Regions from separate parts of the Homo sapiens genome. Here all the other regions are linked to region 6. The links are contacts of gene promoters, found by promoter capture Hi-C in blood cells and fetal thymus (Javierre and others, 2016). All regions are on one chromosome and are shown on one strand. Each heading gives the region's core, a stretch centred on a gene start or on the middle of the fragment in contact. The rest is flanking DNA. Distances are from core to core; before and after follow the strand shown. Region 1 has its middle 120 kb from the start of TANK-AS1. Region 2 has its middle 220 kb from the start of TANK-AS1. Region 3 has its middle 200 kb from the start of TANK-AS1. Region 4 has its middle 140 kb from the start of TANK-AS1. Region 5 has its middle 160 kb from the start of TANK-AS1. Region 6 holds the start of PLA2R1 (phospholipase A2 receptor 1). Region 7 has its middle 100 kb from the start of TANK-AS1.

Region 1 (3,211 bases), core at 454-2,953, 980 kb after region 6:
TGTCGAATTCTCCCAGAATCCGAGTCACTGTTCAGAGAAGCATCCAATAGAGGATGAGAGAAGAGCTTTGTTCATTACTATCTTAAGAAAACACACTTGGGAATGAACAAAGCTCTCGATCTTTAAAATGCTTATAAATCACCCGTGGATTTGTTAAAATACAGATTTTTATTCATTATCTCTGGAATTTATCCCCTCTTAACTTTTCCTCCTTTAGTTTCTATCTCTTTAATTATTTGTGCTGCATCTTGAGAAATCTTGGGAGTTAGTGTTATAGTGCGATGGTTAAACACAAGGGCTCTTTTTAGATTTAAGACTAGTTGTGTGACTTTTGGCAAATTACTTATCCTCTTGGCCTTAATTTCCTAATCAATAAATTGGGAATGAAAAGAGAACCTACTTTATATCATTCTTGCAAGGATTAAATGAAATTATACATATTAAATGCTTAGAATAATGTTGGGCACAAAATAATTACTCAATTAATATCAGATAAAATTAATATTTCAACACAATTTTATGATTCACTAATTGACTCTTCAGTTATGTCTAAGTTATGTCTAGTTCACTATGTCGAGTCTTGTTATATCAACAACCTTATTTTTTATTGCCATTATTTCTAAGTGGTTCTTTTTCATAATAACCCATTCTTGATTTATAACATCATATTTTTATATATCTATATAGCTATCTATATGTCTATGTATAGATACTTTCACCTCTTTATCTCTTTGAGGTTATTAAATGCATTTACATTTTTGATTTTATAAAATTACCTTTTTTTACTTCCTTAGATGTAAGCTCTTTTTTGAAATTGTGCTTTCCTGTCTATCTGGAGGTTTTTAGCTAGGAACTTATTATGATCAGGAGATTTTTCAAGATTTCAAAAATAATCTGCTGGATTATAATTTCCACATACGAGCTTTGAGCAGGGAGCATAGTGCCAGTACACAGGCCTCAGTCAGACATCTGTATAGAGATCACCCTGCGGGAGAACTCAATTCCAGGCCCTGTCCCTGCAGGCACAACCCAAGCCTAGCCCATGGGTTTAGGACAGATGTCACTGCCATGACTCCTGGCCTTGTGCTGGCCGCTCAGCTCTCACTTCAGGTGGCTCCACTGTAGACTGGCAGGGCAGTTCCATTGCTGGCCATCCTCTGGCCTCAGAAACACCCACCTTCTTAGAGCCTTTTCTTATATCATCCAGGTTCAGCCATTTTTTTCAACTGCTCTGAGTCCTATTTGACATTTTTTTGTCTGCATTATTCTCAGGCTCCTCCCATGTGCTTAATTGCTTCCCACGCTCACTTGTACCACATACTCTCCTGAACCCTGTCCCCAATGTTACAATTATATTTAATGAGGCAAGATATTCTGTGTGTGTGTGTGTTTGGAGGGGTAGGGGGGCAGGGTCTCGCTCTGTTGCCCAGGCTGGAGTGCAGTGGTGCAATCTTGGCTCACTGAAAGCTTAACCTCCTGAGCTCAAGCGATCCTCCTGCCTCAGCCTCCCGAGTTGCTGACACTACAGGCATGCACCACCACACCTAGCTGATTTTTGTACTTTTTGTAGATGCGGTTTTGCTATGCTGCCCAGACTGGTCTCAAACACCTGAGGTGAAGGTGTTCACCCTCCTCAGCCTCCCAAAGGGTTAGGATTATAGGCATGAGACACCACATCCGGCCAAGATATTCTTCATCAGAAACACTTAGGAATAAGTTTGTCTTCCCCTCCCTATTTCTACAGCCCCAAGTTGCAGAAGTTTTCAAACCCATAGTCTTTCAAAATCCCCCAATCTCTCCAAGCCTCCCATTTCTCTACAGTCATTCTTACAGGAGACACCAATACCTGTAAGGGCCCTGGCAAAACCAATCACTTGGTATGACAGCAAGTCTTGAAACCAGGAAGGAGGAGGGGGCAATAAAAGTGCCAGCAAGTGGAGAAGCTTACCGTATTCATCCAGATCTCAGCTCTCCACAGCCCTTCCCCTTGCTCTATGGCTTTCTCTTTATAGTTACTACAGAAGTCCTCTACAAGGTATAGCTCAGATGTAACACTTCAGAACACATTAACCATCATGACAACCTCATGGTAGATACTTTTTTCCTCTCTCCTGTGGTATGGACTGGACTTAGTAACTGTTTCTCCTTCCAATCACACACACACGTTAGCTTGTGTACAGACACACACACACACACACACTTCTCAAGATGAAAAAACTCGTGTGATAAGACTTGCTGCCTTCTTCCATGATTCATTTCCCCCTTTTCCATATGCTCTCTGCCTGCATAAATACCTTTAGCCTATTCATTAATTCCCTGGTAAATGTATTCAATTCTTCCCTCTGTTCCTTTTTTCCAACACTCCATTTGCTTTTTAGAAGTTTTAGCTCTAACCTTATGCTCTCTGTCTCTCTAACCCTGCAGTGATTGTCACTGTCTTTCTGTGTTTCTCTTTCCTCAAAGTCTTATAAAATAGAACATACTGCAAAGCAGTGGTGTTCCTGGGATTTAGCATTTGGGATGGCAGATGGGGTGGTAACAAATCTGCCTGTGGGGGCTGGGTACATCCCCCAGCACTCCCAATCTATTACATACATTTTGAATGAAAAATGTTAAAGATAATGGAATTAAAAGCACATTAATAAACCACTTAATCTATTTAGGAGAAGTTGAGAAAAGAAACTCTTTACTAATACTTAATCTAGTACAACTCACATATAACTGAACATAATCCCCTTGATCAGCAAGCAGGTATGAGAGATTTCGCTTTTGTGGTCTCACTACAACTTAGGCATTGATGAAGAAAGCACTGGCAAAGGCAGCTCCAGTATCAGAAGTTAAGGTTGGCTGCCAATCATGTTTTGTTTAGAATCTCTTCTTGAACCCTGGTTTTTACTCACTGTTTTCACTCAAACTATCCACAGACTCATTTTTTAATAAGACCAGGATGGCTCTTGCCAAATCGTAATGTTATAATTATTCCTTTTTACATATTCCTCATTTAGATTGCAAACTCTCTAAAGAGTAAAGACTGTCAGTCTGTTCCATGGGATGCCAGTGTGCAAAGTAGGAGGGAAGTAGAGCACCTCCTATCTAAAAGGAATATGCACTGTGCAGGCATTTCACCTCTTCATTCTTCTGTAATCATTGCAACCACCTATGTTCACAGATGTCAGTATGGAAGCTCATAAAGGTGAAGTAATTTTACCAA
Region 2 (2,915 bases), core at 331-2,830, 880 kb after region 6:
TCCCCTCAGGAGACCGTTATCCTGGCTCGCCACTCTCAGTGTCAGGGGGCATTCCCTGCTAATTAGCTCCAACTTGCTATTTCTTGCTTTTCCCATTATCCTTGGTTATCAATTCCCTTGTAACAACATTATTTGTCTCACATTAGTTATATATTTTTAGATAGTTTCCACAGTTTCACAAGCTACTCTTAAAAGGAGTTGAGCTATTCAGTACCAGACCATATCTTAATTAGTCACACTGTGGAAGGATGAAGATGGAGTTAATGGAATTGGTCACTGGGTTCTCCTGTTTCTAGCAATATATTGCATTATCCTGTGCCTGCATTTCCATACTTGTCCACATTGATTTTATCAGTGTGAGGTCACCCTTCTCTACAAAGCAATGTCTTCTTTAAGCGTAATGCATCTAGGGCATAAGACGGTGTACAAGAAAGGGCCACTTCCTTATCTGACAAATGGGGGGTGAGAATGCCCACTATTTAGATCCCTACAAATGTTCAATGATAACGGGCATGCAAATAATTTAACAAAAATTCTAGTATGCAGTATACATAAGAAATCCTGAGGCATATCTGTACACTAAAATGAATACAGATTTGGAAGCCAAATAGACCTCATTCTATTTTTATCTTTGTCACTTGATGGTCGTATGACCTTATCAACACTTACATGCAATTATTTATTATATAATACTTCACAATTTGCTGGACTGAAAATTTCTCAAAGGGAGGTATTATGTCTTACATATATTTATGCACAGTGCTTCGACTTACGTTGTTTAACCTTCCTGAGCCTTAGTGTTCCCGTCTGTGAATTGAAGTGGGTGTTACATACCTCTGTGTCACAGACATTTTATGCCCTGGCTCACATCTTCTTAGCCCACCTTTTTTCTCTAGCTATTGCTATAACTACCAGATGTGCACAGGAATAGCCTGATGATAGCTCACCTCGGCTGCACCCTGAGAACTCTGCCATCACCCAAGAGACATCTGCAGGAGGCTGGCTGCAGGAAGAGAGCCCTCTTCTAACATTTAATCAGTGGTCCACACTGGGGAGATACAGTTATCACCACTGAGAGAGGGAGGTACTATTGGCACCTAATAGGTAGAGGTCATTGTAGGATGCTGTTAATGTCCTATAAGTACAGCATAGCCCCTCACAACAAAGAATTATCTAGTCCAAATGTCAATGGTCCCATTGTTGAGAAACCTTGACCTAGAAACTGCAAAAACCTCATCGGAGGAAGAAGCTTCATAAGATACTCTCCTCCCTGTCATGTTCTGCTCCCATCTACCCTCACTGTCTCCACACTGGACCCAACAGAAAGTTATTTATCTAATCTGTAAGCATACATACTAAACAATTAGCAGATTCCCTCCATTGTTTCCTATCCTATAGAATGAGAGCTATAATGATAGGAATGTTTAGGCCACAGCACCATTGTGAAGTGTATATGATCCTGGCTTTGGAAGAAAGTAGTACAACCAGAGAATTTTAAGACCTGGTTAATGCACCCAGGAGAAGCCAGGGGAACAGGTGTAGGAGTAGATCTTAGAGTACCCAACACAAGGTTAGCACATAAGGCTGGAGAAGGGAGAATGTATTGATGTTAGAACACTCTCCCGTGACATGGGGTTCAACATCTTAGCAAAGACACATAGAACTGGTCCTAATACACTGCTAAAATTGTTCCTTATAGCTTTGTCCTTATCAAAGTAATTAGGTAAGTCAGGCCTTGGCAGGGTTTTGGGGAAGGGCTTGAAGGGCTCAGGGAGGTGGAAATGTTGGAATGGGTTTACTGTGTTACATCAAAGTACCCACCACCTGACTCTGTTGCCTGAGGGAGTCCAAAGAACACTCCTACAATCAGTCAATGAAGAATGCAGAGTGAGGGGAGCACCACCATTGTGGAGAAGCTTGGTTGTGTTGTTGACAGTGGGAAGTGCTATGTTAGAACCAGTCTCCCTGGTATCAATGGAATTGATAGGATTCTCAAATAGGAGAGGCTAATTTGTCTTCACAGAAATAGGGTGGTCATAATTTCTGAAATAAACAGTGAGGCCAGAGTGATGACCTGAGAGCTTTGACCCATAGGAATCGGTAGCAGTTGTTAATAAATCATGGGAGCAAGACAGATGGGCAGCCAACTAGAGTTTCACTTCATCTATAGAGCCAGCAGGAGAGATCTGGAAAGCAAAAAACTGGTGTCTGTCGCCCCAATGGGAAATCACACTCTCTCACCCATTTACTAGATCTAAGTCAGTTCCCAGACACAGAGCTCAGTCTCTGATCCAGAGCTCAGTGACTATCAAAGAGACTAGGTCCATTTGGCAATATCCTGCAACACCACTGCAAAAATTTAAAATAAATATCTCCTGATCCTTTCCCAAAGGAACTTGAAGCTATTTACCAGAATATCAGATATACACTGGGGAAACAAAAATACCCAGACCATGCAAGGACTTTTAGACTCAGAGTCTGAGTTGGCTCTAAAAGCAAGGAATTGAAAATGCTATTGTGACCCTTCATTAGAAAGAGGCATGTAGAAGCCAGGTGATGAATAGAATCCTGGCCCATGTCCATCTCATAGTCGTCCAATGGGGCCGCAGGCCACCTGTGTGGTTATTTGCCCAGTCCCTCAGTACAATCAAGATTGGTTCCTTGGCCACTGAAATAAGAGCCACTGTGGGTTTGGAAGAGACATGGGAAGTTCCCCAAACTGCAATCCTACATCTCAAGAGAAATTGCAGAAATTAGCACCACCACCAAAGACTTGAAGGATGAAGGGATAGCCTCATTCAATTCACCTATTTGGCCCTTGCAAAAACTAGAAGGATCATCATGAATGATAGTGGACCAAAGTTAACATAACCAAATGGCATCCACAATCACATATACCATGTCAGATACGGTAA
Region 3 (3,288 bases), core at 613-3,112, 900 kb after region 6:
CAGAATGTAGCAGGCAGAGAAAAAAATACACACTAAGGATTTATAAAATATTTCAGCAACACAATTAAAGAGCTAATCTAAAAGATATACTATATGTATAAGCCTGCATATGATGAATAGAAAATAGAAAATATACTTTTTTATCAAGCCTAAGTGGAACTGTCTGAAAAAATGACTACACACCAGGCCACAAATCTATTTATATTACATATCTATATCATAAAAGTAACCTGCTAATCAAAGAGGAAATCACAATGAGGAAATTATTTTAAAAAAACAAACTTAGCCAGATGTGGTGGCAAGTGTCTGTAGTCCCAGCTACTCAGGAGGCTGAAGTGGGAGGATCACTTGAGCCCAGCCTGGGCAACATAGCAAAAGCCCATCTCAAAAACAAAACAAAACAAAACCCTGAAACTATACAACAATAATAGTGCTCTATATGCTAAAAATGTGGGCATATTTCTAAAGCAATACTTTAGCCTTAAGTGAATTTACCTAACAAGAAAGATAAAAAATAAATGAGCTAAGAATTCCACTGAAGACTGGGAGACGAAAAGAATAAATGCAAAGTAGAAGAAAGGATGTAATAAAGATAATAGCAGAAATTAATAAAATTTTTAAAACTCCACTAGAGATGATGAGGCCACCAAAATATTCCACCTGACTCCTTCAGAGTCCTTCACTGTCCATGATGCAGGACAAAGCTATCTTCATTCCTCACCTGTTGCTGGTGTGGAGTACCTACTGTCACTGCCCAACAGAAATACAATGTGAGCTACATATGCAATTTAAATTTTATAGTAGTCACATTAAAAAAACTACAAGAAACAGGTAAAATACATGTACTAATATATTTTATTTAAACCAATATATAAAAAATATTTCAACACACACTCAATATTTTTAAATTATCGAGATATTTTACATTCTTTTTCCATGCTGAGTCTTCAAATCTGGTATATATTTTACACTTGCAGATCATTTCAATTTGGACTAGCTGCATTTCAATTGCCCAGTAGCCAACATGCTACTGGCTAGTGTCTATCAAATTGGACAGAACAAACCTGTCTTCAAATGGCATCCCATATAATTTCAGAATTCTTTAGCCTTTGAAGTCATCATTGTATCTTATTTGTTTCTTAATAATTTGGCCTTTGGAACAGGATAAAGACTTGTATAACCATTTTTTCATCTGCACTGTATGTTCTGCAAGGTGATGGCAACCCTCTGGTAAGTTACCTTGCTGCCAATGTCTAAGTCTTTTCCAGCCAGTTGTAGTGGCATTAGTTCCGATAGTGGCCAAAGTTCTAGTGGCCGTATAGTTGACAGCATTTCAAAGAGTTACCTACTTACTTTCCATATTAGTGTTTACACAACAGAGATTCTCTATAGGCATCTCTATTCCCCAAGAATTTCATGTTGAAATAACAAAATGGCCTAGATTCACCTGAAGATAAATTGCTTTAATTATTAAGCAGACTGTGAAGCTCACAGTTTCAAATATCAGGTCAGTGCAGTGCCCAGCGTCAGCAGAAGCTTTGCTGTGCTATTTCTCCAGGTGCTACTATTGAGCCTTAATATTACTGGAACAATTCCATTCAGGACTAGCTTTATCTGTGCAATTTGCCCACTTCTTCAACAGAAGAAAATTGATCTTAGTAATTGTGAGAAGAAACTATGATTTCCCAGTGTTGTAAAGTTTAGTCCAATTGTTGGCATTATTATTAATATCTATGGAAATCTCACAGCATAATTATTTCTTAGGTCTTAGAATTGATGATGAAGCTGTATAGATACCTATCAACTCTCATTTTTACACTTTATGTGAGCTCATGAAGAGAATAGAGTGCTTAAGACTAACAGCACATGGACTTCAATTGGACAACCTGGGTTTGAATCCCAGCTTTACTTATTTATCAGCCATGTGTCTGAAACTCAGCTTCCTCAGCTTTAAAGTGGAAAGTATTAATTAAGATTACAAAAGGATTACACAAAATAACATATAAGGTGTATAACACAGGGCTCAGCACTCAGAAGTGTTTCATAAACATTAGCTAGGTCAATCTGTGAGTTCCTAATTTCTTTAAGCAAATTTGGGAGCATTGAAAAAAATGACCATCTAATAGCATTTCTAAAGCTCTGAAGACAATTCTTTCCAAAAGAAATTCCAGTTGACCTGTTTCTCTCTAAAGCTTACATCAGCAAGCTTTTCCTAACTGTGATGATCTCAACTTCCTTTCTGGATATTTATTATGCAACAATGCTAACGTTTTGGTTTGGAAGCTCCCCCGCTCAGGTCCCATTATCAATAATCAAGCCAGGTTAAAGCTCTCTAAACATACTTGGCATCAGCAGATGGAATAACCCAGTTTCAATGACACTTTCCCTAATCTTACCATTCTGAATCAGGAGTAGGCATTGTAAGGCCAACGATTTTTAAATTTTGGTTTTCCTAGATATATAATTTTTATGTCATTTTTGCTCTGGGTAAGGGGAGGCCAAGTCTGAACTGAGAAAATGAAATAATAGGGTTTATTTAAGCAAGGTACTCTGATGGGAATTTTGCCCCAAAGCCACTCCTCTCCCTTTATAGTAGGATGAAGCTCACCTTTAGATGCTCACCTGTTGAGATGGGCAATTCTCCCCTGTATTGCCATTTAGATTTACAGCTCCTCTCTTTGAGGTTCACATTCATTAAAACTATACATTTGATGCCCACACTATTCATCTGCTGAAATCATAGTATTCTGGAGCTAAAATTTCACTTTCTGAGACTTCTGTCAATCGAGAGTGTGGTATAAAACAAGACATGTTTTGGCATTTTTTCCAGTAAATCCGCTTTGTTATAATATTTCCTTTTGAAAATACTGATTAATAGTTCATGTAGTTAGTAGTATCCTCCAGGCACTGTTCTATTTGTTTTATAAAAATAATGCCCTTAATCCTCACAATAGCCCTATGTGATGATTAATTATTATTCTCACTTTATAGATGAGAAAAGTCAGGTACAAAGAAGTTAAGAAACCCCCTAAGGTCTCATAGTTGCCAAATGGTGAAGCCAAGATTTGAATGTGGATCTCATATCAGATCCTAAGCCTTTAACCACTATACCACATTCTGCCTCTCATTTAAAAAGCATTAGAAGCATATATAAAATCGAAAAGAAGATTTGGTGCATTACGAAGTAAATTTGTCACAAGTTTAGCATATTTCTGGAACCAAAAATATTAAAATAAACTAATCTTAATTTATACATGTCTAAGAAACCATATGCTTATAAACCACTAG
Region 4 (2,935 bases), core at 147-2,646, 950 kb after region 6:
AAAGAGAGGGACTCTTCCCTAACTCATTTTAAAAGGCCAGCATCATCCTGATACCAAAGCCTGGCAGAGACACAACAAAAAAAAAATTTCAGCCAATATCCCTGATGGACATCGATGCAAAAATCCTCAATAAAATACTGGCAAACCAAATCCACCAGCACATCAAAAAGTTTATCCACCACGATCAAGTTGGCTTCATCCCTGGGATGCAAGGCTGGTCCAATATACACAAATCAATAAATGTAATCCATCACATAAACAGAACCAACAATAAAAACCACATGATTATCTCAACAGATGCAGAAAAAGGCATTTGACAAAATTCAACAGCCCTTCCTGTTAAAAACTCTCAATAAACTAGGTATTGATGGTACATATCTCAAAATAATAAGAGCCATTTATGACAAACCCATCTCCAATATCATACTGAATGGGCAAAAGCTGGAAGTATTCCCTTTGAAAACAGGCACAAGACAAGATGTCTTTTCTCACCACTCCTATTCAACATAGTATTGGAAGTTCTGGCCAGGGCAATCAGGCAAGAGAAAGAAATAAAGGGTACTCAATTAGGAAAAGAGGAAGTCAAATTGACTCTGTTTGCAGATGACAGATTGTATATTTAGAAAACCCCATCGTCTCAGCCCAAAATCTCCTTCAGCTGATAAGCAACTTCAGCAAAGTCTCAGGATATAAAATCAATGTGCAAAAATCACAAGCATCCCTATACACCAATAACAGACAAACAGAAAGCCAAATCATGAGTGAACTCCCATTCACAACTGCTACAAAGAGAATAAAATACCTAGGAATCCAACTTACAAGCGATGTGAAGGACCTCTTTAAGGAGAACTACAAACCACTGCTTAAGGAAATAAGAGAGGGACACAAACAAGTGGAAAAACATTCCATGCTCATAGATAGGAAGAATCAATATTGGGAAAATGGTGATACTGCCCAAAGTAATTTATAGGTTCAATGCTATTCCCATCAAGCTACCATTGACTTTCTTCACAGAATTGGAAAAACTACTTTAAATTTCATATGGAACCAAAATAGAGCTCACATAGCCAAGACATTCCTAAGCAAAAAGAACAAAGCTGGAGGCATCATGCTATCTGACTTCAAACCATACTACAAAGCTACAGTAACCAAAACAGCATGGTACTGGTACCAAAACAGAGATATAGACCAACGGAACAGAACAGAGGCCTCAGAAATAATGCCACACATCTACAACCATCTGATCTTTGACAAACCTGAGAAAAACAAGGAACAGGGAAAGGATTCCCTATTTAATAAATGGTGCTGGGAAAACTCACTAGCCATATGCAGAAAGCTGAAACTAGATCCCTTCCTTACACCTTCTACAAAAATTAACTCAAGATGGATTAAAGACTTAAACTTAACACCTGAAACCATAAAAACCCTAAAAGAAAACCTAGGCGATACCATTCAGGACATAGGCATGGGCAAAGACTTCATGACTAAAACACCAAAAGCAATGGCAACAAAAACCAAAATTGACAAATAAGATCTAATTAAACTAAAGAGCTGCGCAGCAAAAGAAACTATCATCCGTGTGAAAAGGCAACCTACAGAATCGGAAAAAATTTTTGCAATCTATCCATCTGACAAACGGCTAATATCGAGAGTCTACAAAGAACTTAAAGAAATTTACAAGAAAAAAAACAAACGACCCCATCAAAAACTGGTCGAAAGATATGAACAGACATTTTTCAAAAGAAGACATTTATGCAGCCAACAAACATGAAAAAAAGCTCATCATCACTGGTCATTAGAGAAATGCAAATCAAAACCACAATGAGATACCATCTCACACTAGTTAGAATGGCGATCATTGAAAAGTCAGGAAGCAACAGATGATGGAGAGGATGTGGAAAAATAGAAACAGTTTTACACTGTTGGTGGGAGTGTAAATTAGTTCAACCATTGTGGAAAACAGTGTGGTGATTCCTCAAGGATCTAGAGCTAGAAATACCATTTGACCCAGCAATCCCACAACTGGTTATATACTGAAAGGATTATAAATCATTCTAGTATAAAGACACATGCACACGTATGTTTATTGCAGCACTCTTCACAATAGCAAAGACTTGGAACGAACCCAAATGCCATCAATGATAGACTGGATTAAAAAAAATGTGGCACGTATAAACCATGGAATACTATGCAGCTATAAAAAAGGATGAGTTCATGTCCTTTGCAAGGACATGGATGATGCTGGAAACCATCATTCTCAGCAAACTAACACAAGAACAGAAAACCAAACATCTCATGTTCTCACTCATAAGTGGGAGTTGAACTATGAGAACACATGGGCACAGGGAGAGGAACATCATGTACCAGGCCCTGTTGGGGGATGAGGAGCTAGGGGAAGGATAGCATTAGGAGAAATACCTAATGTAGATGATGGGTTGATGGGTGCAGCAAACCACCATGGCACGTGTATACCTATGTAAAAAACCTGCAAGTTCTGCACATGTATCCCAGAACTTAAAGTGTAATTAAAAAAAAAAAAAAGAAACTACCACTTGTTGAGTTTTGGGATAGTATTGAGGAGAATATGGACAGTATCTGAAAATGCTATTAAATATTTTTCTATTTTCCAACTGCACATCTGTATGAGGCCAGACTATCTTTATATGCTTCAACCGAAACAGCATATCACAAGAGTTTGAATGCAGAAACAGATATGATAATCTATTTTCTATTAAGCCAAATATTGGCTTAATAGAAAGACACTGGGAGAAATTTTTAAATCTACTCAACATTAATTTTTATTTTGCAAAATATATTTTCATAAACAATATGTGATTTATGTTAGCACATAATAGTTTTTGTATTTAAAGTAATAAATATTTTAAAATTCTCTGTTTTAACTTCCAACATGATAAATATTGATAGATATAACACA
Region 5 (3,236 bases), core at 149-2,648, 940 kb after region 6:
GTAGTGAGCTGTGTGTGTCTTTCCATTTGCATTTATTTTATTTGGCTATTTTGTGGTATTTTTTTCTATCTAAGGTAACTGCACAAAGTAAATCATTTTGCCTTATCAGCATTCTAAACACTTTGGTTTTCAATGTCTTTATTTTTAATAGAAGTTCAATATTTGTCCTCATGCAGATCTATTAGATAATTCATATGAAGCATTTTGCATAGCACCTTGCATGGGAAGGCTTAGAAATAGTCATTGATACTATTGTTATAGGATTATCCATTTTAGAGAAAACTTATTTTAAATGTTAAACAAGAATACCATTAGTGATTTGTTTACAGGTTACTTCTACATTGTACAGAGGTGAAATAGTTTTCATGACAGAGTTAAACAGTCTCTCCATAAAAAGTTAATATTTAGAAACTTGAAAAAAGCCAGGGGCAGTGGCTCATGCTTGTAATTCCAGCACTTTGGGAGGCTGAGACAGGCAGATGACTTGAAGCCAGGGGTTCAAGACCAGCCTGGCCAACATGGTGAAACCCTGTCTCTACTAAAAACACAAAAATTAGCCAGGCGTGGTGGCATGCATCTGTAATGCCAGCTACTCAGGTGGCTGAGGCATATACAATCTTTTGAACCTGGGAGGTGGAGGTTGCAGTGAGCAGAGACTGTGCCACTGCACTCCAGCCTGGGTGACAGAGTGAGACTCCATCTCAAAAAAAAAAAAAGGAAGAAAAAAGAAAAGAAAACTTGAAAACAGTGGCAAATTTGTCTATTTCTGTTTTTTAAAAAATATTTAAATTATTTAATTATTTGTCTTTTTTAATATTTTTATTATTATTATACTTTAAGTTTTAGGGTACATGTGCACAATGTGCAGGTTAGTTACATATGTATACATGTGCCATGCTGGTGTGCTGCATCCATTAACTTGTCATTTAGCATTAGGTATATCTCCTAATGCTATCCCTCCCCCCTCCCCCCACCCCAAAACAGTCCCCAGAGTGTGATGTTCCCCTTCCTGTGTCCATGTGTTCTCATTGTTCAATTCCCATCTATGAGTGAGAACATGCGGTGTTTGGTTTTTCGCCCTTGCAATAGTTTACTGAGAATGATGATTTCCAATTTCATCCATGTCCCTACAAAGGACATGAACTCATCATTTTTTATGGCTGCATAGTATTCCATGGTGTATATGTGCCACATTTTCTTAATCAAATCTATCATTGTTGGACATTTGAGTTGGTTCCAAGTCTTTGCTATTGTGAATAGTGCCGCAATAAACATATGTGTGCATGTGTCTTTATAGCAGCATGATTTATGGTCCTTTGGGTATATACCCAGTAATGGGATGGCTGGGTCAAATGGTATTTCTAGTTCTAGATCCCTGAGAAATCGCCACACTGATTTCCACAATGGTTGAACTAGTTTACAGTCCCACCAACAGTGTAAAAGTGTTCCTATTTCTCCACATCCTCTCCAGCACCTGTTGTTTTCTGACTTTTTAATGATTGCCATTCTAACTGGTGTGAGATGGTATATCATTGTGGTTTTGATTTGCATTTCTCTGATGGCCAGTGATGATGACCATCTTTTCATGTGTCTTTTGGCTGCATAAATGTCTTCTTTTGAGAAGTGTCTGTTCATATCCTTTGCCCACTTTTTGATGGGGTTTTTTGTTTTTTTCTTGTAAATTTGTTTGAGTTCATTGTAGATTCTGGATATTAGCCCTTTGTCAGATGAGCAGGTTGCGAAAATTTTCTCCCATTTTGTAGGTGTCTGTTCACTCTGATGGTAGTTTCTTTTGCTGCGCAGAAGCTCTTTAGTTTAATTAGATCCCATTTGTCAATTTTGGCTTTTGTTGCCATTGCTTTTGGTGTTTTAGACATGAAGTCCTTGCCCATGCCTAGGTCCTGAATGGTATTGCCTAGGTTTTCTTCTATGGTTTTTATGGTTTTAGGTCTAACATTTAAGTCTTTAATCCATCTTGAATTAATTTTTGTATAAGGTGTAAGGAAGGGATCCAGTTTCAGCTTTCTACATATGGCTAGCCAGTTTTCCCAGCACCATTTATTAAATAGGGAATCCTTTCCCCATTGCTTGTTTTTCTCAGGTTTGTCAAAGATCAGATAGTTGTAGATATGCAGCGTTATTTCTGAGGGCTCTGTTCTGTTCCATTGATCTATATCTCTGTTTTGGTACCAGTACCATGCTCTTTTGGTTACTATAGCCTTGTAGTATAGTTTGAAGTCAGGTAGGGTGATGCCTCCAGCTTTGTTCTTTTGGCTTAGGATTGACTTGGCGATGCGGGCTCCTTTTTGGTTCCATATGAACTTTAAAGTAGTTTTTTCCAATTCTGTGAAGAAAGTCATTGGTAGCTTGATGGGGATGGCATTGAATCTATAAATTACCTTGGGCCGTATGGCCATTTTCATGATATTGATTCTTCCTACCCATGAGCATGGAATGTTCTTCCATTTGTTTGTATCCTCTTTTATTTCATTGAGCAGCGGTTTGTAGTTCTCCTTGAAGAGGTCCTTCATATCCCTTGTAAGTTGGATTCCTAGGTATTTTATTCTCTTTGAAGCAACTGTGAATGGGAGTTCACTCATGATTTGGCTCTCTGTTTGTCTGTTATTGGTGTATAAGAATGCTTGTGATTTTTGCACATTGATTTTGTATCCTGAGACTTTGCTGAAGTTGCTTATCAGCTTAAGGAGATTTTGGGCTGAGACAATGGGGTTTTCTAGATATACAATCATGTCGTCTGCAAACAGGGACAATTTGACTTTCTCTTTTCCTAATTGAATACCCTTTATTTCCTTCTCCTGCCTAATTGCCCTGGCCAGAACTTCCAACACTATGTTGAATAGGAGTGGTGAGAGAGGGCATCTCTGTCTTGTGCCAGTTTTCAAAGGGAATGCTTCCAGTTTTTGCCCATTCAGTATGATATTGGCTGTGGGTTTGTCATAGATAGCTCTTATTATTTTGAGATACATCCCATCAATACCTAATTTATTGAGAGTTTTTAGCATGAAGGTTGTTGAATTTTGTCAAAGGCCTTTTCTGCATCTACTGAGATAATCATGTGGTTTTTGTCTTTGGTTCTGTTTATATGCTGGATTACATTTATTGATTTGCATATATTGAACCAGCCTTGCATCCCAGGGATGAAGCCCACTTGATCATGGTGGATAAGCTTTTTGATGTGCTGCTGGATTCGGTTTGCCAGTATTTTATTGAGGATT
Region 6 (3,094 bases), core at 155-2,654:
CTCCTGTCCCCCTCCTACTTGCATATATGGACTTCTGCACTTAGGCGCAGGCTTCTCTGCCTGAGGTGGCCCATTCTCAAATGCGGGCCCCTGCAGGCCAGAAATCTCTCCTCCCTCTCTTTACACAACCTTCTGAGTCTCATGTGTAGTAGGTGCTCAATAAGTGTTTGCTGAATTGAACCCCGTTTTTCCACTGAGAGAGACTAAGGCATAAAGGCTTCAGATCACGCAGTTCATGGAGCCACTGGGGCTTCTCTCCCTCACCTGGCCTGATGTTTTCAGGCGGGGTGCGGTGGGTCAGGCCTGTAATCCCAGAACTTTGGGAGGACGAGGTGGGCGGATCACTTGGGCCCAGGAGTTGGAGACCAGCCTGGGCAACATGGTGAAACTCCGTCTCCACCAAAAATACAAAAATTTTGCTGGGCGTGCGGGCGCACACCTGTGGTCCCAGCTACTCGGGAGGCTGAGGTGGGAGGATCGCTTGACCCCGGGAGGCGGAGGCTGCAGTGAGCCGAGATCCCGCCATTACACTACAGCCTGGGCGACAGAGCAAGACCCTGTCTCAAAAAACAAACAAACAAAAAAAGTTTTCCTTAAGGAAGGGATGGACTGGGGAGGCCTGGCTTGGGGGTCACTCCTAGGTGGCGACGCAGACCCTGAGCGCTTGCTTTGCAAGGGGACGAACTGAGCCATCTTTTTGCTATCATTTATCCGTCCCAAATAAGCAGCTCTCAGAAAGTTTCCGTTTTGAAACTTCTCCGACACTCCTATCCCGGGCTGGCTCCGGGCGCCAGAGCCGAGAGGAGTTACCTGCGAGACCAAGCCCCCCCGCCCCCGCCGCCCGACCCCCGCAGGAGCCAGGAGGGTGCCGGGCCGCGCAAGTGGGGTGCTGGGCCTAGACAAGAGGCTGCAGGACACCACCCGCTCCCCCCATGCTCAGGACTGCTGACACACGAACCCCTACAAACGCGGCCGCCCTTGCCCGCCAGCTTGGCCCCTAGCTTCGCCCCTTCTTCCTCTCCTTCGACCACCCCGACCCCCCTCCCCAACGTACCGATCCAGTCCCCGACCCTGGGAGACTCACCCTGCCACTCCAGGAGCCGCTCGGGGGTAAGCGCCGCCGCCACACCCTCGGCGCAGCCCCGCGGCGCCCCCAGCAGCAGCAGCAGCAGCAGCGACGGCGACAGCAGCATCGCTAACCACTGGGCTCTCCGGGAGCCCCTTGTCCCGGGAGCCCCTTATCCCGGGAGCCCAGAGCCGCGTCCCAAGCACCCGGCCCCGCCGCGCGGAAGCGGATCCGTAGCCTCCTCCGCGCCCCACCCCCTCCGGGGGCCTTGCCAGCCCAGAGCCCTGGAGACCCACTCCGCCACCGCTGTCTCCACAGTGAACCGACACTCGGGGCTCTGGGCTGGGATGCGGGAAAGTCGCGGAGGTTTTCCTCGCCCCACCCACTGCGGCTTGGGGAAGGAGGAGGAGGAGGGGTGGGCCATCTGCCCATCCCAGAAATTCCTGCCTTTGGGGTGGGGACAGGCGGAGTGAGGCTGCTCGGGTCACACTCTCCGCTCCTCTAGCTTGCAGCCCTGCTCTCTCCTTTCTGGGGGAGGCCGAAGAGGAGTTGTGGGTGAGCGATTTGAGAATCTCCGGGACAAGGAGCCTGACATCCGGGTTTGCAAACCACCTGGATTCTGGTAAACACCGCGGATTTGCAGCGGGCAGCCTAGAGTGAACCCAGCTGCTCCGCGACGCAGGCGCTTTGGGAGGGTCCTGGACTCCTTTGACTTGTGGAGCACTGGAGACACCTGAGGGGCCACGCCGTGGTCTCCACCTTCCTTGCCCCAGAGTAACCCGGAGATTCTTCTATTCAGCTCCTTCGGTTTTGAAATAACCTCCTCTTTCCAACTCCTTTGATCCCCCAAGCCCCGCAAAGTAGCCGGGGTCCCTATTATCCCATTTTTACAGCTGAGAAACCCTGCCCAGAAAGTCGAAGTGCTTTGCTCTAGGTTACTTCCTAATCCAGCAAAAGTTACTCTCTAGCAAGTAGGACAGCCCTGGCTAGAATGTAGTCGTTCTAACTGTCCTCCTTCAAATAACCAGCAGAACACTGGAAGCGTTTAATATTCTGAGAACAGGCTCATATAAGACCTTTCCTCAGCGGGACCTTGACATTAGTCATTAAAACATAAGAGAGGGGGAGGGGAGGGGCAGAAAGCAGAGCCTGGAAGGAAATGCCTAGCAGGGAGCAAGATTGAAGGTCAGAGCCAAATGGGGAAGAAGGGAAAGTGGTTGCCTTGGCCATGGCCTTAACAAAAGGTGCTCAGTCCTGCAGGAACCTCAGAGAGCCTCAGAACTGTCTGTCGAGGACAAAAGGGGCAAGCGTTTATCCATGGACTTTATCCTTCCCTGTTGGTAAGGGAGATCCTAGGGTTATTAACTCCTCTGCACTGTTCTACAGCAGTGGTGAGTTTCAGTCATGGTCCCATACCTTGTCTCTTAGAAGCCCTGGGTGCATAGCATGGCAAAAGGTGAGGCGCTGTCAGGTTGTTTCTCAGAGGGTTGGGGGGTGGGGGACAGCCGGGGGAAACAGGCTGCAGAGGGGGCTGGAATAAGAGGTGGGTTGAGAGGATGTGAGAGGTTCCAATGTGTGTAGAGTTTATAACATATCATTACATGTAGAATTCAGCATCCTTGCTTGAAAACATGCAGAAAAGAGATGCTTTAAGCCTAGTAGATTACACAGACTTCAGCCACAAACTATGTATCCATCTCTCCTATGGCCTCAGAACTACATTGCTATGGGAATATCCCCGTAGTATTATGATAGAAGATTTGGCCCTGCCCGAGCAGGCTGGCATGTATTGCAGCAGGCAAGTGCAATGCACATGACATAATTAGGTCATAAAACAGGACACTGATGCTAATCTCTGGTGAGGTCCAGGGCAGTGAGAGTAAAGGGGAGAGAGACTAGGCTGGAGTGGGCATAGAGGCCTAACTATGCTCAGATAGTATGGTGGGTATTGGGAGGAAGAGGCTGTTCTAGGATGGGAAGAAATTGTGAAAAAAAAAATTATACAAAGGTTGGAGTGAGAACTGCTTG
Region 7 (3,334 bases), core at 253-2,752, 990 kb after region 6:
AATTAGCTATTTATTGTAATACTCTTCCTCTCCCCCCAGCCCCTACAACAGGCCCCAGTGTGTATTTTTCCCCTCCCTGTGTCTATGCGTTCTCATTGTTCAGCTCCTGCTTATAAGTGAGAATGTGCGGTTTTGGTGTTCTGTCCCTGTATTAGTTTGCTGAGGATAATGGCTTCCAGCTTCTTCTTTGCAGAAAGTAAAAGTTCCTTTTTACTGTTTCTCTTCTTGTTAAAGAATAAGTCATAAGTGTTAGAAATAATAGTTTCTTTTAAAGACTAACTTTATGCTAGACATGCTCACAGGCACATAGTACATTCTATGACCTTGTACTTTAACCAAGATATCTGTGCTAGATGTGCTCACAAGCATGTCCCAGCTCGCAGCCTATGCCCCTTCCTTATTTGGGAATGTTATTACTTTTCTAAGTCTTTTCATAAGAAACTTCCTCCTTTCCTTTGTTCTTCTCTGCCATTATCTCTTTAGGAAAAGTTTTAAACCTTTAGCCAATCGGGAGCAGCCTAGACTGTGAGGTCCAATTCCAGCCAATGGAATCAGGACACAGCAGTAGGGTACGGATGTGTCAGATATAAATATTTTTATCCTCTTTGTTCAGTGTGCTCTCGTGGCAAGACTGCTGGCAAGCAGCACCCTTTCTGCAGAAAGTAAAGGTTGCCTTGCTGAGAGATCCTTTGTCTCCATGCTGACTTTTCTTGGTGACACCGATTATCTGCTTCTAACATCCATGTTTCTGCAAAAGACATGATCTCATTCCTTTTTGTGGCTGCATAGTATTCCATGGTGAATAAGTAACACATTTTCTTTATCCAGTCTATCACTGATGGGCATTTGGGTTGATTCCATGTCTTTGCTATTGTGAATAGTACTGCAATGAACATATGTGTCCATGTATCTTTATAATAGAATGATTTATATTCCTTTGGGTATATACCCAATAATGGGATTGCTGGGTCAAATGGTATTTCTGGTTCTAGATCCTTGAGGAATTGCCACACTGTCTTTCACAATGGTTGAACTAATTTAAACTCCCACCAACAGTGTGAAAGCATTCCTATTACTTCACAGTCTCACCAGCATCTGTTTCTTGACTTTTTAATAATTTCCGTTCCACTGGCATGAGATGGTATCTCACTATAGTTTTGATTTGCATTTCTCTAATGATCAGTGATGTTGAGCTCTTTTCATATGTTTGTCAGAGCAACCACTTTAAACAGGGTTTTATTGGTATACAAAAGCACAGAGTCCTATCCCCCAAAGACCCTGGTCCTGAAGTGCTGTAGAATAGGCCCAACCAATTAAAGATAGAGCTATAGCTCTTAGGACACAGCTTTATTTTGTTGGTGTTGATGATCAAAGATAACATGGAGAAAAAATGTGATCACAACTCCTGTACCTCCAGAGGAGGTTTCAGTAGCTGGTAGGATATTTGTTAGATACACAAGAAGCAAGTGGCGTCTCCCCAAGAGAATAGAATGGAGATTCGACCAACTTTCTGCTGAAGTGGGCCAGTTGAGAGCCATTAGGAAGGATGGCTGGAGTTCTAAGTGAAACAAGGAGCTGCTACCCAAATGTTTACTTGAACCCTGTTAATGTCTGATGACAATGGAGTAATTTCACAACAGAGACACTGAAACAGCCAATATCACAGTCTGTGCAACAATATGAAATTCAGATGGTCTAGAGTATTGCTAAAACACAAAGGGAGAGGGGAGAAAGGTTATCCATGAATAATACATTTCCTTTTGTGGAAGCAGGAGGAGAAGAAACAAATGGATCATTAATGGGCTTAACACAATTAGGCTTCACAGTGGGGCGGGGGCCAGCAGAAGCTCTTGCCAGCAATGCCACCAGCAGAGGAGGCTGCTGTGAAGTAGAGGAGGAGGGCAAGAGTTGGTGGTAACATTATTTTGGAGTTGCTGCTTTTTCTTCCCAGTATCCAAAGCCTCTTCTTGAATTGAAGATTAGTTGTGTTATCTCTATTTTTGTGGGGTTTTTTTTTTTTTTTTGAGATGGAGTTTCACTCTTGTTGCCCAGGCTGGAGTGCAATGGTGCGATCTCGGCTCACCACAACCTCCGCATCCTGGGTTCAAGCGATTCTCCTGTCTCTGCCTCCCGAGTAGCTGGAATTACAGGCATGCACCACCACTCCCAGCTGATTTTGTATTTTTAATAGAAACAAGGTTTCTCCATGTTGGTTAGGCTGGTCTCAAACTCCTAACCTCAGGTAATTCACCTGCCTCAGCCTCCCAAAGTGCTGGGATTACAGGCGTGAACCACTGTGCCCAGCTTGTTATCTCTGTTTCTAGAGCAAAATAGCCCAGTGGTAAAAAGAGCATTTCCTTGAGAATATATGAAAAGGTATTATCACATTTGAAAAGCGTAATTAATATGATAATGTGGAGAAATTAAGGATAAAGCAACCTAAAAAAAACAGGAAGTAATTAAGTGAAGAATACAACATTATTGAACATTGCCAAGAAAACAGACATACAAAAGTTGCAAGTTGTAGCTTGCTTTATGCAATAATGCACTTTGCTGTAAAGTAGCATACCTTGATCTTTTCAAAATCAGACATTTGAAACTTACTAATAGATTTCACTATTTAGAGGCATTCTGTGTGTATATATGAAAAAAAGGTCCTTTATGGTATAAATAATCTATCTAATCATGATCCCGTTGCAGGAATTTCTCTTTCTGTTCCATGGAGTAGTTGCAGACTTTGCAGTCCAGCAGACCTAGGTTCAAGCCAAGCTCTGCTTCATATTGATTATGTGACTTTGGGGGAGTTACTTTACCTTGATGAGCCTCAATTTCCATAACAGTAAAATGGCAACAATATATACAGAATGTCATAGAATTCTAGGCCTATAGAAAATACTTAAGAGTGCCTAGATCATAGTAAAGGCTTAAAAAATGTTACTGACTCCTTCAGGAAGGGGTCAGGGTGTGCATTCTCCTAAGAGGAATCAGATTCCACAGACGTTCAACATGCCAAGGGCAGACTTGACTCTGGTTTAGACACAGAAACCAAGAACACTTAGCTCTAGGAATCCTTCTCCCAGGGAACAACACTTATCTTGGTGGCTCTTTTAGGTATTAAGGATAAATCAGAGAACACTTGGGTGACCAGGAATAAAGAAGCAGCTACTACATCAGTCTCCAGATAAAACCCTAACTCCAAGGAATTTTCCATGAGGCTATTATGACCTGGGCTCCAGCTGGCACTGAACTGTGACCCACCCTGACTCCATCTACCATCCCAACCTCCAGCGCCAGGCTACTGCCACAGGCCTTGCATCCTCACCTGGTCAGCTAA

What was found. Contacts are between HindIII fragments. The CHiCAGO score rates a contact against its expected background, and 5 or more counts as called.
Region 1: a contact is called between a fragment that was not itself captured here and the fragment with the promoter of PLA2R1 in region 6, in 1 of 17 cell types (M2 macrophages). The highest score is 5.1, in M2 macrophages.
Region 2: a fragment that was not itself captured here is called in contact with the fragment with the promoter of PLA2R1 in region 6 in 1 of 17 cell types (M2 macrophages); the score reaches 6.6 in M2 macrophages.
Region 3: a contact is called between a fragment that was not itself captured here and the fragment with the promoter of PLA2R1 in region 6, in 2 of 17 cell types (M0 macrophages and M2 macrophages). The highest score is 5.4, in M0 macrophages.
Region 4: a contact is called between a fragment that was not itself captured here and the fragment with the promoter of PLA2R1 in region 6, in 2 of 17 cell types (M2 macrophages and M1 macrophages). The highest score is 6.0, in M2 macrophages.
Region 5: a contact is called between a fragment that was not itself captured here and the fragment with the promoter of PLA2R1 in region 6, in 1 of 17 cell types (M2 macrophages). The highest score is 6.6, in M2 macrophages.
Region 7: a fragment that was not itself captured here is called in contact with the fragment with the promoter of PLA2R1 in region 6 in 1 of 17 cell types (M2 macrophages); the score reaches 5.2 in M2 macrophages.

The regions. Positions count from the first base shown.
Region 1 is chr2:161,039,330-161,042,540 of GRCh38, forward strand. No RefSeq gene overlaps it. Among named protein-coding and RNA genes, the nearest start is that of TANK-AS1, 120 kb to the right of the region's middle. RefSeq lists an enhancer at 643-812. The HindIII fragment of the contact is 476 bases long and covers 1,466-1,941 here.
Region 2 is chr2:160,943,296-160,946,210 of GRCh38, forward strand. No RefSeq gene overlaps it. Among named protein-coding and RNA genes, the nearest start is that of TANK-AS1, 220 kb to the right of the region's middle. The HindIII fragment of the contact is 667 bases long and covers 1,248-1,914 here.
Region 3 is chr2:160,961,921-160,965,208 of GRCh38, forward strand. No RefSeq gene overlaps it. Among named protein-coding and RNA genes, the nearest start is that of TANK-AS1, 200 kb to the right of the region's middle. The HindIII fragment of the contact is 656 bases long and covers 1,535-2,190 here.
Region 4 is chr2:161,013,912-161,016,846 of GRCh38, forward strand. No RefSeq gene overlaps it. Among named protein-coding and RNA genes, the nearest start is that of TANK-AS1, 140 kb to the right of the region's middle. The HindIII fragment of the contact is 6,228 bases long and covers 1-2,935 here.
Region 5 is chr2:160,996,683-160,999,918 of GRCh38, forward strand. No RefSeq gene overlaps it. Among named protein-coding and RNA genes, the nearest start is that of TANK-AS1, 160 kb to the right of the region's middle. The HindIII fragment of the contact is 3,574 bases long and covers 1-3,185 here.
Region 6 is chr2:160,061,211-160,064,304 of GRCh38, forward strand. PLA2R1 (phospholipase A2 receptor 1) reads right to left here and starts at 1,405. Exons shown (of 30, transcript NM_007366.5): 1 at 1,085-1,405. The coding sequence starts at 1,193. The HindIII fragment of the contact is 10,793 bases long and covers 1-3,094 here.
Region 7 is chr2:161,056,010-161,059,343 of GRCh38, forward strand. No RefSeq gene overlaps it. Among named protein-coding and RNA genes, the nearest start is that of TANK-AS1, 100 kb to the right of the region's middle. The HindIII fragment of the contact is 3,661 bases long and covers 1-3,333 here.